Regions from separate parts of the Homo sapiens genome. Here regions 2 and 3 are each linked to region 1. The links are contacts of gene promoters, found by promoter capture Hi-C in blood cells and fetal thymus (Javierre and others, 2016). All regions are on one chromosome and are shown on one strand. Each heading gives the region's core, a stretch centred on a gene start or on the middle of the fragment in contact. The rest is flanking DNA. Distances are from core to core; before and after follow the strand shown. Region 1 holds the start of RPL30 (ribosomal protein L30). Region 2 has its middle 64 kb from the start of MTDH. Region 3 overlaps MTDH (metadherin).

Region 1 (3,684 bases), core at 862-3,361:
TTTTTTTTTTTTTAATCTAATGAAACTGAGCCACAGAATAGTAAGTGGAGGATCCAGAATCTAAACCTTTAAAAGATAAGCCATTTCTATCACCATCCCCTCAGTGCCCAGAATTCCAGATGGGAAGTGATACCGTTTTAGAGTTAAAATTTCTGGCCTCACGCGTGTAATCCCAGCACTTTGGGAGGCCGGATCACTTGAAGTCAGGAGCGTCAGACCAGCCTGGCCAACATGGTGAAACCTTGTCTCTACTAAAAATACAAAATTTCAGCGTCAAATTAGTAGATACTAATGGTTTTAGGAATCGGAAAGGAGTCCTATACTATCTTGCCACTCAATTATGTGAATCCACATACCAGCAATAGTGCTACAATGTATTAGTTAAAAAAACACCTCAAGCCGGGCACGGTAGCTCACACCTGTAATCTCAGCAGTTTGGGAGGCCGAGGTGGGTGGATCACCTAAGGTCAGGAGTCCGAGACCAGCCTGGCCAGCATGGCGAAACCCCATCTCTACTAAAAATACAAAAATTAGCCAGGCATGGTGGCAGGTGCCTGTAATCCCATCTACTCGGGAGGGTGAGGCAGAATTGCTTGAACCTGGGAGGCAGAGGTTGCAGTGAGCTTAGATTGTGCCATTGCACTCCAGCCGGGGTGACAAGAGCAAAACTCTGTCTTAAAAAAAATAAAATAATAAATGGCACCTCGGGCCCCATCCCAGATCCAATGAAATCAGAACTTGCATTTTAACATCACCCATGTGACTCCTTTGCACAGTCATGTTTCAGAAGCACTACTATAGAAGACAGGCTTTAAAGAAAGTTTCAAAGAATGGTTAGGGAAAAGCCGAACCCATGGGACAAGACAGAAAGGGCCCTCCAGGCTTTGACGGTAACTACAGACACCCTATATAAAATGCTGTAAGCAGCTTATGCATCACCACAGAAAATTTGCTCACATAGCTTATACTCTGCAAGGTCCAAGTTTGTTTGGCTTATTTACAACACCCCCTAAGTTCAATTTCAAAACAGTGAGTCAAGCATAAATCTTGACTCAGAACTGATTTAGCGGGCTAAACTAGGTGATTCTATGATAGCCTGCAACTCCATAGCCCAGCCTCAACTTTTCTTACCTAGTTTTTTGACACTAAAACAAGTTCACACAATGAAGCATCATTAAAGCACCTCAAAGCTAAAAGAACCAAAAAAGCAGGACACAAAATACATGGAAAAAACAGTAATGTGTCTGTGTTTCCATTAAACCTCGATGTTCTGTTTTCACTCCTGCCACACACACACATTTCTCCTCCAAAAATAAGCTCACAGAAGGGGAGCACACGATTTGGGGGTGGGTCGGGGAGACGGGAATGAAGGGCCAAACACCACAATCGCTACCGTAATTATCCTGCAAGTGTTCGAGTTCATGGTACTCAGATTACAAGTTTACACTCCTGTATATTCGTTCACGATGAATTCGCGGTAGGCGAAGCCCGTTCAGTCTCTTCGATTACCTCAAAGCTGGGCAGTTGTTAGCGAGAATGACCAATTTCGCTTTGCCTTGTCTGATCATCTTCAGAGTCTGCTTGTACCCCAGGACGTACTTCCCACTTTTCATAACGAGTTGGAGCCTAGAGTTGATCGACTCCAGCGACTTTTTCTACAAAGCAAACATTAAATACGGACCTAAGGGCCTCGCCTGCAACCGCCTCAAAACCGGACCCAGCTTTTTGAAGCCGAGCCCCTTAAACTTCCGAAGTCGAGGACCCCAAGTCATTGAGAGGGCCACTGGGATTCCTTCTGGGGCCCTCCAAATGCCAGCAGGCATGCTGTCACCCCCGTGGGCTCACATCTGCCCGCCCTGGCCAAGACATCTCTCCACGTGAATCGTCTTCCGGGCCTGGCCCGCCTCACTCACCGTCTTCTTTGCGGCCACCATCTTCCTGCCTTAGGAGCGGGACGGCCCCCAACCTAGAAGAGACAGAGAACAGGACAGGAATTTTAGGATCCGGAGTTACAAATGGCAACCCGCAAAGCTCCCCGCGCTGCCTAAACCTCGGTCGGTAGGAGCCCACTCACCAACAGCAGCCGCTAAGATGGCCGGGGAACGAGAAAGGAAAGACTTCCCACAATGCAAAGCTCTTCACGGCAGAGCCGGAACTGCGGGACCGGAAGCGGAAACAGATCGCAAGCAGAAGGGGCGGAGCAAAAGCGGAGGGCAGCTGCCGGTTGCTATTGGTACCGCTAGCTAGAATGGCTGCGGGGGCCGTACGCGGCTGCTCATACCTTTAATCCCAGCACTTTCGGAGGTTGAGGCGGGAAGATCTGTTGCGTCCAGCTCAAGGCCAGCCTGGACAACATAGACCACCCCTGTCTCTACAAAAAAATAAAAAAGAAATAAAAAAGAAATTAGCCGGGCGTGGTGGCGCGCTCCAGTAGTCCTAGCTACTCCCAGCTACGCCGGAGGCTGAGGCGGAGAGGTCGCTTGAGCTCGGTAGGTCGAGGCTGCAGTGAGCCATGATCGCGCCACTGCACTCAGCCTGGGCGACAGAGTGAGACTCTGTCTCAAAGAAGGAAAAAAAAGAATGACGGCGGGGGTGTTCTTTTCCCCCTCTGCGGGCCTTTAAGCTTCGCGGCGTTGTGTTGCTGTTCTGCTGCGAGCTGCGGTCTAACTAATCGAGGCGCTTAGAACCCGGAGGGAGTTCGAAAAGCCGACTGAAGGTGAGGTGGGAGGGTAGATGAGAAGAGGCTGCGGCGGCTGCGACCACGGTCTCAATGCCGCTGAATTCATCTTTGTCCTGAGGCGCGGCTCTTGGAGAGCCTTGTGGGTGACTCCGATGCGCCGCAGCACCCGCATTTACTCTCCGCTTGGTAGAAGCAGCTGTGTCCTCACCCCTGCGGTCACCCAAGTTACCTGTCCCCTGGAGAACGGTGGCGCCCTGCTCGAGTTTCCCAAAACTCGCCTTTTGTGACTGTGTTAGCGTGAACTTGTGAGCCGAGTTTGCACTGAGAGCGCGATAAACAGGTCTAATTTTTTAAAAGTATTTTTGCTGTTAACGTTGGATCTTGGTATAAATGTCCAGAGACAGACCACTGAAGATATTAGGCGCTGAAAATCCCCACCTAATCAATCAGACCAGTGGATAAGCTATATGAGGGAAACCTCTTCCCCTCCTTAATTAAGCCTCACCAAAAAACGCGTGCTGTACCAGGAATCATTTACATATATTTATTTAATACTCACAAAAGTCCCATGAGATAGTAACCTTTTTATTGTCCATTTTACATATCTAGGCCTATTGTCAGAGCTAGGACCAGAGCCCAGGTAACTTAGGTCTCTTCACAATTAAAGTTGATTCAGGCCGAATGCGGTGACTCACGCCTGTAATCCAAACATTTTGGAAGTCCGAGGTGAGCGGATCACCTGAAGTCAGGAGTTCGAGACCAGTCTGGTCAACATGGTGAAACCCCACCTCTACTAAAAATACAAAAAGTAGCCAGGTGTGGTGGCTCCTGCCTGCAATCCCAACTACTTGGGAGGCTGAAGCAGGAGAATCGCTTGAACCTGGGAGGCAAAGGTAGCAGTGAGCTGAGATCGGGCCACTGCACTCCAGCCTGGGCGACAAAGCGAGACTCCCTCTCAAAAAAAGTAATAAGGCCGGGCGCGGTGGCTCACGCCTGTAATCCCA
Region 2 (3,684 bases), core at 480-2,979, 470 kb before region 1:
GATGCTGAGTTCTTCTCGATGCATTCCATCAGAATCTATTATTGGTGATGTTAACTTCTATCACTTGATTAAGGTGGTATCTACCAGACTTCTCCAGTGTAAATTTACACTTCTCCCCTCTGTAATTAATACATATTTTGTAGGGAGGTACTTTGAGAACATATAGACATCCTGTTCCTCACCAATCTTTCAAGTTAGTCATTTACTTATTTACGTCATATTGAATCATGGTTCTATTTTATTCAGTGGATTTTAATCCATTCCTATCAAGCTGGCTTCTGCATCCTTTGGCACAACAAGATATTTCAGGCTCATCCTGTGCTTCCCTACTCAAACCCTGTATCAGCCACTTCTCCAAGGGGTCCTGGATCCTTTTAGTGGAGAATGGTACTTAAAAATCAAGACCTCAGTGCTAGATTTGCTCATTGCTCTTGATGTGTACTACACTCAGGCCCTCAAAAGGAGCAAAGCTAGGGAGCATACATATGCACACGCATACACACACACACGTACACACACACACACACACATATCTATATTGATTCCCATATCTACCCATCTGTGTATACTGAAAACTATGAACTCACGGTAATATCTCCAATTCCAAACTCTAACAGTAGAGAGCTCATCAGTTTTCTCCCTTTCCATATTTTCACTTCCTTCTGTGACAGTGAGAAACTTTGCTCCTACTCTCCTCCATATCTTGACATATTGGAGCACTACTATATGTAATATCCCACCTTGTAGGCCCTGACACCCCCCTGCCAGGTTGCCCTCCCCTAGGCAGGCCCCTCTCACCCTATTCGGACTCCCACACCCAGCACCAGGCTGCTGATTCCCCTCATCTAAAGCCCTCCTCACCCCACCTGGCCTCTGATGCCACATGCTGGGCTACCATAGGAATGTGCATCCCACCTTGCTTGGTATCTGACACCCGTGCCAGGCCCCCATCAGCCCCTCGTGTGCATGCCTTTCTCACTCTGCATGGCTCCAACACCCCGCCCTGGTCTTCCTCCCTGCATGCCTCCGCACCTGAACTTGTTCAGACACTGATACCCTACCTTTTGTCACTGACCTGCCCAACCCCATCTAATAATGGCTTTTGAAATGGATTGTTCTGGAAGGAAACAGAAGGGAAAACAGATAAGAAAAAAGAATAGGACAACATTCTTCTTTAAATGCTAACTATGATTTCAAAGCTGTTTTTGAAAAATATTCTGTAAAAAGTGGTATGTCCCTTTTAAGTAAAGCTGTTTATAAAAGTTGTGTATTATTTAGGGACAACTCAAACAAACGAAATGCTATCATTTAAATTTAGGAACATGGAAGCAATATATAAGAAACTCAAGATGCAATAGTGGCTGAGAACAGAAATGTTTCCCTTTTTAGGTTATGTAGAAATTGGATTCTTTTTGTTCAGGAGAAAGGAGGTTTTGTTGTCATCAGAGTGAATGTGGGGTTGATCATCTGCAGTCTCTCTTTCTGCTTTGAAGAGAATACAGGGGAATCAGGGAAGGTGGCAGCCTCCCAAGACAGTAAGGAGGCTAGGAGGATACACTTAGGTTTACCTTTTATTAGCTTGGCTAATGCCACATGCAAATGAGGCATCCAGGCAGCTGGGAGAAGTGGAGGTGCCCAAAACTGGCCTGAAGTCCCAAAGTGTGTTCCTTCTTCAGGAGAGTCCTGACTCCAAGATAAGACTTTGAAGTGAATTATAAAGATTAGGACTGGTAGGCTGCGTGTGGTGGCTCATGCCTGTAATCCCAGAGCTTTGGGAAGTCAACACAGACAGACCACCTGAGCTCAAGAGTTCAACACCGGTCTGGGCAACATAGCAATACTCCGTCTCTACAAAAAATACAAAAATTAGCCAGGCACGGTGGTATGCACCTGTAGTCCCAGCTACTCAGGAGGCTGAGATGGGAGGATGGCTTGAACCCTGGAGGCAGAGGTTGCAGTGAGCCGAGATTGTACCATTGCACTCCAGCCTGGGTGACAGAGCGAGACCCTGTATCAAAAAATAAATAAATAAATAAAGAGTAGGACTAGCTATTTTATCAGGGTTACTTTACATCAGAACTGATAAAATATTAAAGACTGAATCCAACTATTAGGAAAGTTACCAAATTATACTATGGTGTTTCTTTTTTTTATGCTAGATATACGTTTAAATTTCTGCTTTCAGCCATGATAGACTAGATTACACCCAACCAACTCTTCTACCAGGAACAACTAGAAAAGTTGGATAAAATACAAAAGTCATTTGTTTAAAAGCATCAGAAAACTACAAAAATAGCCAGGAATTAAGAGCTCAAGATCCTGACTTTGAGTTCCCCCTGAAGCAGATCCCCAGGGAAGGATTTGAACATAAGGAGGTGATGTCAGGAAGCATTATTAGGGAAGTGAGGAAGAGAAACAAGAAAGATAAGACAGCCAAAAAAAGCTGGTTCTTAAACAAACTGCCACTGTGAGTAACTGGAGCTTGAGTCCACTGGGGAAATCAAGGAGACCTTTTTCCTCAGAGTTATCCCACCCAAAGGGCAAGGGGATCTGCGGCATTTATGATCCAATTGCATTTTATTGGGTCTTCTTGACCATGATAGCAAAACTAGATAATGATACTGCAAAAAAGAAAAATTGTAGGCCATTCTCTCTTATGAACATAGATGCAAAAATCTGAAACAAAATATGAGCCAATCAAATATGGCTATATGCTATATATCCCATCGAGACTGGGCTTATTCCAAGAACACAAGACTGGCCAGGCAAGGTGGCTGACGCCTGTAATCCCAATAATTTGGGAGGCTGAGGTGGGTGGATCACTTGAGCCCAGGACTTCAAGACTAGCCTGGGCAAAATAGCGATACTCTGTCTCTACAAATAATACAAAAATCAGCCAGGCATGGTGGTACGTGCCTGTAGTCCCAGCTACTCAGGACACTAAGGTGGGAGGATGGTTTGAGCCTGGGAGGCAGAGGCTGCAGTGAGCCGAGATCGCACCACTGCACTCCAGCCTGGGCAACAAAGCGATACCCTGTCTCAAAAACTAAAATAAAATAAAATTTAATTTAAAAATATATTTTTAAAAAAACAAAAGTGGAGCAAAAGGCTAATTTATACTTAAAAATCAATCAATGTGATTTTACCATATGAATAAAATAAAGGAGAAAATTATATGATCATCTACATAAGATGGTATTTAATATTCAGTGTGGATATTTATTAAATATTTCTCTCTTCTTCTGAGACAGGGTCTCACTCTGTCACCCAGGCTGGGGTACAGTGGTGTGATCTCGGCTCACTGCAGCCAGGACCCTTCAGGCTCAAGAGATCCTCCCATTTCAGCCTCCTGAATAGCTGGGACTACAGGCACATGCCACCACACCTAGTTATTTTTATTTTTTAAAAGAACAATATGTGTTCATTTCCACTCAGCTAATTGCATGGCTTATTTTAAATATAATAGGTAAAATGACCAGGGTACAAAAGTAGCACACATTAATTATAAAATCAAGTTTTAAGGGGCTTGGGTGGCCAGGTGTGGTGGCTCACACACACCTGTAAGCTCAGGAGTTCAAGACCAGCCTGGGCAACATGGCAAAACCTCATCTCTACAAAAAATACAAAAATTAGCCAGGCATCGTGGTGGGTACCTGTAATCCCAGATACTCAGTAGCCTGAGGT
Region 3 (3,684 bases), core at 487-2,986, 370 kb before region 1:
CCAGCACTTTGGGAGGCCCATGTGGACAGATCACGAGGTCAGGAGATCAAGACCATCCTGGCTAACATGGTGAAACCCCCTCTCTACTAAAAAATACAAAAAAATTAGCTGGGCGTGGTGGCACATACCCGTAGTCCCAGCTACTCAGGAGGCTGAGACAGGAGTATTGCTTGAACCCAGGAGGTGGATGTTGCAGTGAGCTGAGATTGTGCCATTGCACTCCAGCCTGGGCGACAGAGTGAGACTCTATCTCAAAAAAAAAAAAAAAAAAAAATACAAAAATTAGCCAGGCATGATGACGCATGCCTATAGTCCCAGCTACGTGGGAAGCTGAGGTAGGAGGATCACTTGAGCCCAGGAGGTCAAGGCTGCAGTGAGCCTTGATCACACCACTGCACTCCAGCCTGGGCAACAGTAAAAGCCTGTCTCAAAAAAAAAAAAAAAAAAAAAAAAAAAAAAAGGCCGGGCGCAGTGGCTCATGCCTGTAATCCCAGCACGTTGGGAGGCCGAGGCAGGTGGATCACAAGGTCAAAAGTTCGAGACCAGCCTGGCCAAGATGGTGAAACCCCGTCTCTACTAAAAATAAAAAATTAGCCGGGCATGGTGGCAGGTGCCTGTAGTCCCAGTTACTCGGGAGGCTGAGGCAGGAGAATTCCTTGAACCTGGGAGGCGGAGGTTGCAGTGAGCTGAGATCATGCCACTGCACTCTAGCCTGGGCGACAGAGCGAGACTCCATCTCAAAAAAAAAAAAAAGAAAGAAAGAAAGAAAAGAAAAAGGAAGTGGACACTATTATTTCTAGTAAGAACTCTATCAGCTACATCACCATGAAGTTATGATGATTTAATCAGATGTTATATAAATTGATCCAGATAGTGAAATCATCAAGAAGGGGTTTTGAAATAACAATATGTTTATACTTTTGGTATTTAAAATAAAAACTTTGCCTAATTATACTGTGCCTTGAAATTTTAGCTAATGGTATTCTGAAACTATTCTAATTTAGCAAGATATCTAAGCATTCAGAATGTAAAAACTGGCATTTCTAGTTTTTTTGGAGGTATTTATTTATGCATTATTCTATATGACAAAATTTTACTGAATTTAATTATAAATGACTGGATGCATTTCTTGAGGGTTTCTTATTTAAATAGAGAAAGAAATACTATGGGGAAACACTTGTTCCTCTGCCATGGTAATTAGCAAAAAACAATATTACAGCCAATCAAAATGCATTCATTCATTAGCATATACTGTTTGATGCAGCATAAAAATGTTGCTAATGATATTAAATAAATTAGTACCAGAGCAAATTTCCCAGCCTGGTAGGGATAATGTACAGATGTTTCTAACATTAAAGCTTGGGAGTACTTGCTAGATTCTATTTCAGTAATGAAACACATGAAGAACCACTTTTGTGAGCAATTAAAGAGATATCCACAAAGATATATTCTCAACTGTAAATCACTTATTTAACTTTTTTGAATGTTTGTGGAAAAACTAAACAAAAACCACTGATGGACGGCTTTGACTGGAATTAAAAAAATAAATGGAGAGTTAGGGAGAGATACCACCATGTGTGAAATTTATTTACTACATTATTTCTAGAAAACTATGATGACAAAAGAGATTAATGCCAGATGGCAAATTGGAAGACCTTCAAATTACAGTAAGGGTGAAGGTGATAATCATCTTTTATGATGCAAAGATTTTACAAGAGGATTCATTGACTCTATTATAGCAAAATACTTTGATAAAGCTGAACAACTTTTAAAAGCGAGTCATACATTTTTTCTCCTTTCTCCCTCTTTCTCTCTCTGTTTCCTTTGCTTCCTTCCTTCCTTCTTTTTTTTTTTTTTTTTTTTTTTTGAGAGAGAGACAGAATTGCTTAGTCACCCAGGCTGGTCTCGAACTCCTGGCCTCAAACAATCCTCCCACCTCAGCCTCCCAATATTTCGGGATTACAGGCATGAGCCACCTTGACTGGCCTATTTTTCTTTTATGAAAAATGAAGTGTTCCAAGTCTGTTTATCTTTTTTATAAAGATAAATGGTTGTCTGCTTACCAGATACTTTTACAAAGAATTTATACTGAATCTGCCCCTTCACGCTTAAGGAAAGCTTACTTAACAAGATGTCAGAAAATAGCCAATTTTTGAAAGAAACTCATGCAATGAAGAGTGTATTCTGACAAACTTACATCATTGCATGATTTGTTATTAAAGAGCGTTTGTACGTTAGATGTGAAAATCCTCATATCTGCCCAGCTTGGGAGCAATTTTCTAACAGAAAAATAGCCTAACAGCCCAGATTCCAGAGCACGAGTACATGGGATCCAATTCCAGTTCTAACACTTGACTAATGATGTGATTTGGGGGTTGGTTAGTAATCACTTGTGCCTCCCTTTTCTTATCTACAAAATGGATAGAATAGCATTTACCTAGGGTTACTTTGAGAATTTAAATGGAACTATGTAAGTAATAGCTATAAACCAGATGTAAAATTTTGTCTTTTTAGTGAATTCACTTGTTAAAAATACAAAAAAAAATTATCTCACCCATGGTAATAACAAGAACAAAATGATGATGATGATAATAGTAATAATAATAATAAAGTAGAAAGTACCAAAAACTGTAGAACTTTCTGATCTACAGTTCAATACAGAAACAATGTATTGATGTTAAAGATTAAAATTTACTGGCTGAATTTTCACAAAAACTTTTGCATAGTTGGAGAATTAGGTTGAAAAATTAGTGTCGTATTTCAGTAAGCATGGCCAATCATGTGTCTTCCATTTTGATCTTCTTACTTTTTCAAGTATAACAATATTTAATACCAGATATTAAAATGAATGCATTTAGAAGATATTCGAAAGAATGAAGCATGTGCATTGATATTGCTATCACTAAAAATAGTTATATTTTACAAATGTATACACTATCAGTGTAGTAGAATGTGTATAAAATTTATAAACAAATATCTTGGGGTATATGCTCAATTTTTTCCCATGGAAGTATGAGAACAACAAGCTTATTTAACCCGCTGTTACAAGAGTGATAGCAGACCCCTTTATCTGGCATATTTACTCAGGTATTTAAGTGAGTTACCATATGTTCCATATATTGATTAGCAATTGAGTATTGGCACTGCTTATTTACTTATTTTGAGTAACTCCTAATAAGATACTAGAATTTTTGGAACTTATTCGTCATAATTTCCTAAGGAATTATCAATCTGTCTTATTCAGTATATATCTTTGGCAGTTTTAGAAAGTTGTAATGGTGGATCTAATGATTATTTATCAAAGCCTTTTCGTCATCTAGTTTTTTTGTTTGTTCGTTTGAGACAAGGTCTTGCTCTGTCGCCCAAGCTGGAGTGCAGTGGTGCAATCTTGGCTCACTGCAACCTCGACCTCCTGGGCTCAAGTGATCCTCCCACCTCAGTCTGCCGAGTAGCTAGGACTACAGGTGTGCACCACCATGCCCAGCTAATTTTTTATTTTTTGTAGAGACACAGTTTTGCCGTGTTGCCCAGGCTGGTCTCAAACTCCTGGCCTCAATCGGTCGGCCCACCTCAGCCCCTCCAAAGTGCTGGGATTACAAGCATGTACCACCGCACCCAGCTCATCATCTAGATTTAAAAGAATGGAGCCATTTGCTGTTCCACGTGCAAATATTGTTTGTAGTC

The links. Contacts are between HindIII fragments. The CHiCAGO score rates a contact against its expected background, and 5 or more counts as called.
Region 2: a contact is called between a fragment that was not itself captured here and the fragment with the promoter of RPL30 in region 1, in 3 of 17 cell types (fetal thymus, naive CD8 T cells and naive B cells). The highest score is 7.8, in fetal thymus.
Region 3: a contact is called between a fragment that was not itself captured here and the fragment with the promoter of RPL30 in region 1, in 3 of 17 cell types (fetal thymus, activated CD4 T cells and total CD4 T cells). The highest score is 6.7, in fetal thymus.

Annotation. Positions count from the first base shown.
Region 1 is chr8:98,043,434-98,047,117 of GRCh38, forward strand. RPL30 (ribosomal protein L30) reads right to left here and starts at 2,112. Exons shown (of 5, transcript NM_000989.4): 1 at 2,075-2,112; 2 at 1,914-1,966; 3 at 1,510-1,655. The coding sequence starts at 1,934. RefSeq lists enhancers at 2,044-2,193, 2,260-3,196, 2,364-2,423, 2,444-2,493. The HindIII fragment of the contact is 12,210 bases long and covers 1-2,621 here.
Region 2 is chr8:97,578,264-97,581,947 of GRCh38, forward strand. No RefSeq gene overlaps it. Among named protein-coding and RNA genes, the nearest start is that of MTDH, 64 kb to the right of the region's middle. The HindIII fragment of the contact is 4,555 bases long and covers 1-3,684 here.
Region 3 is chr8:97,676,752-97,680,435 of GRCh38, forward strand. The region is part of intron 2 of MTDH (metadherin); the gene reads left to right. Among named protein-coding and RNA genes, the nearest start is that of MTDH, 34 kb to the left of the region's middle. RefSeq lists a silencer at 1,747-1,947. The HindIII fragment of the contact is 760 bases long and covers 1,357-2,116 here.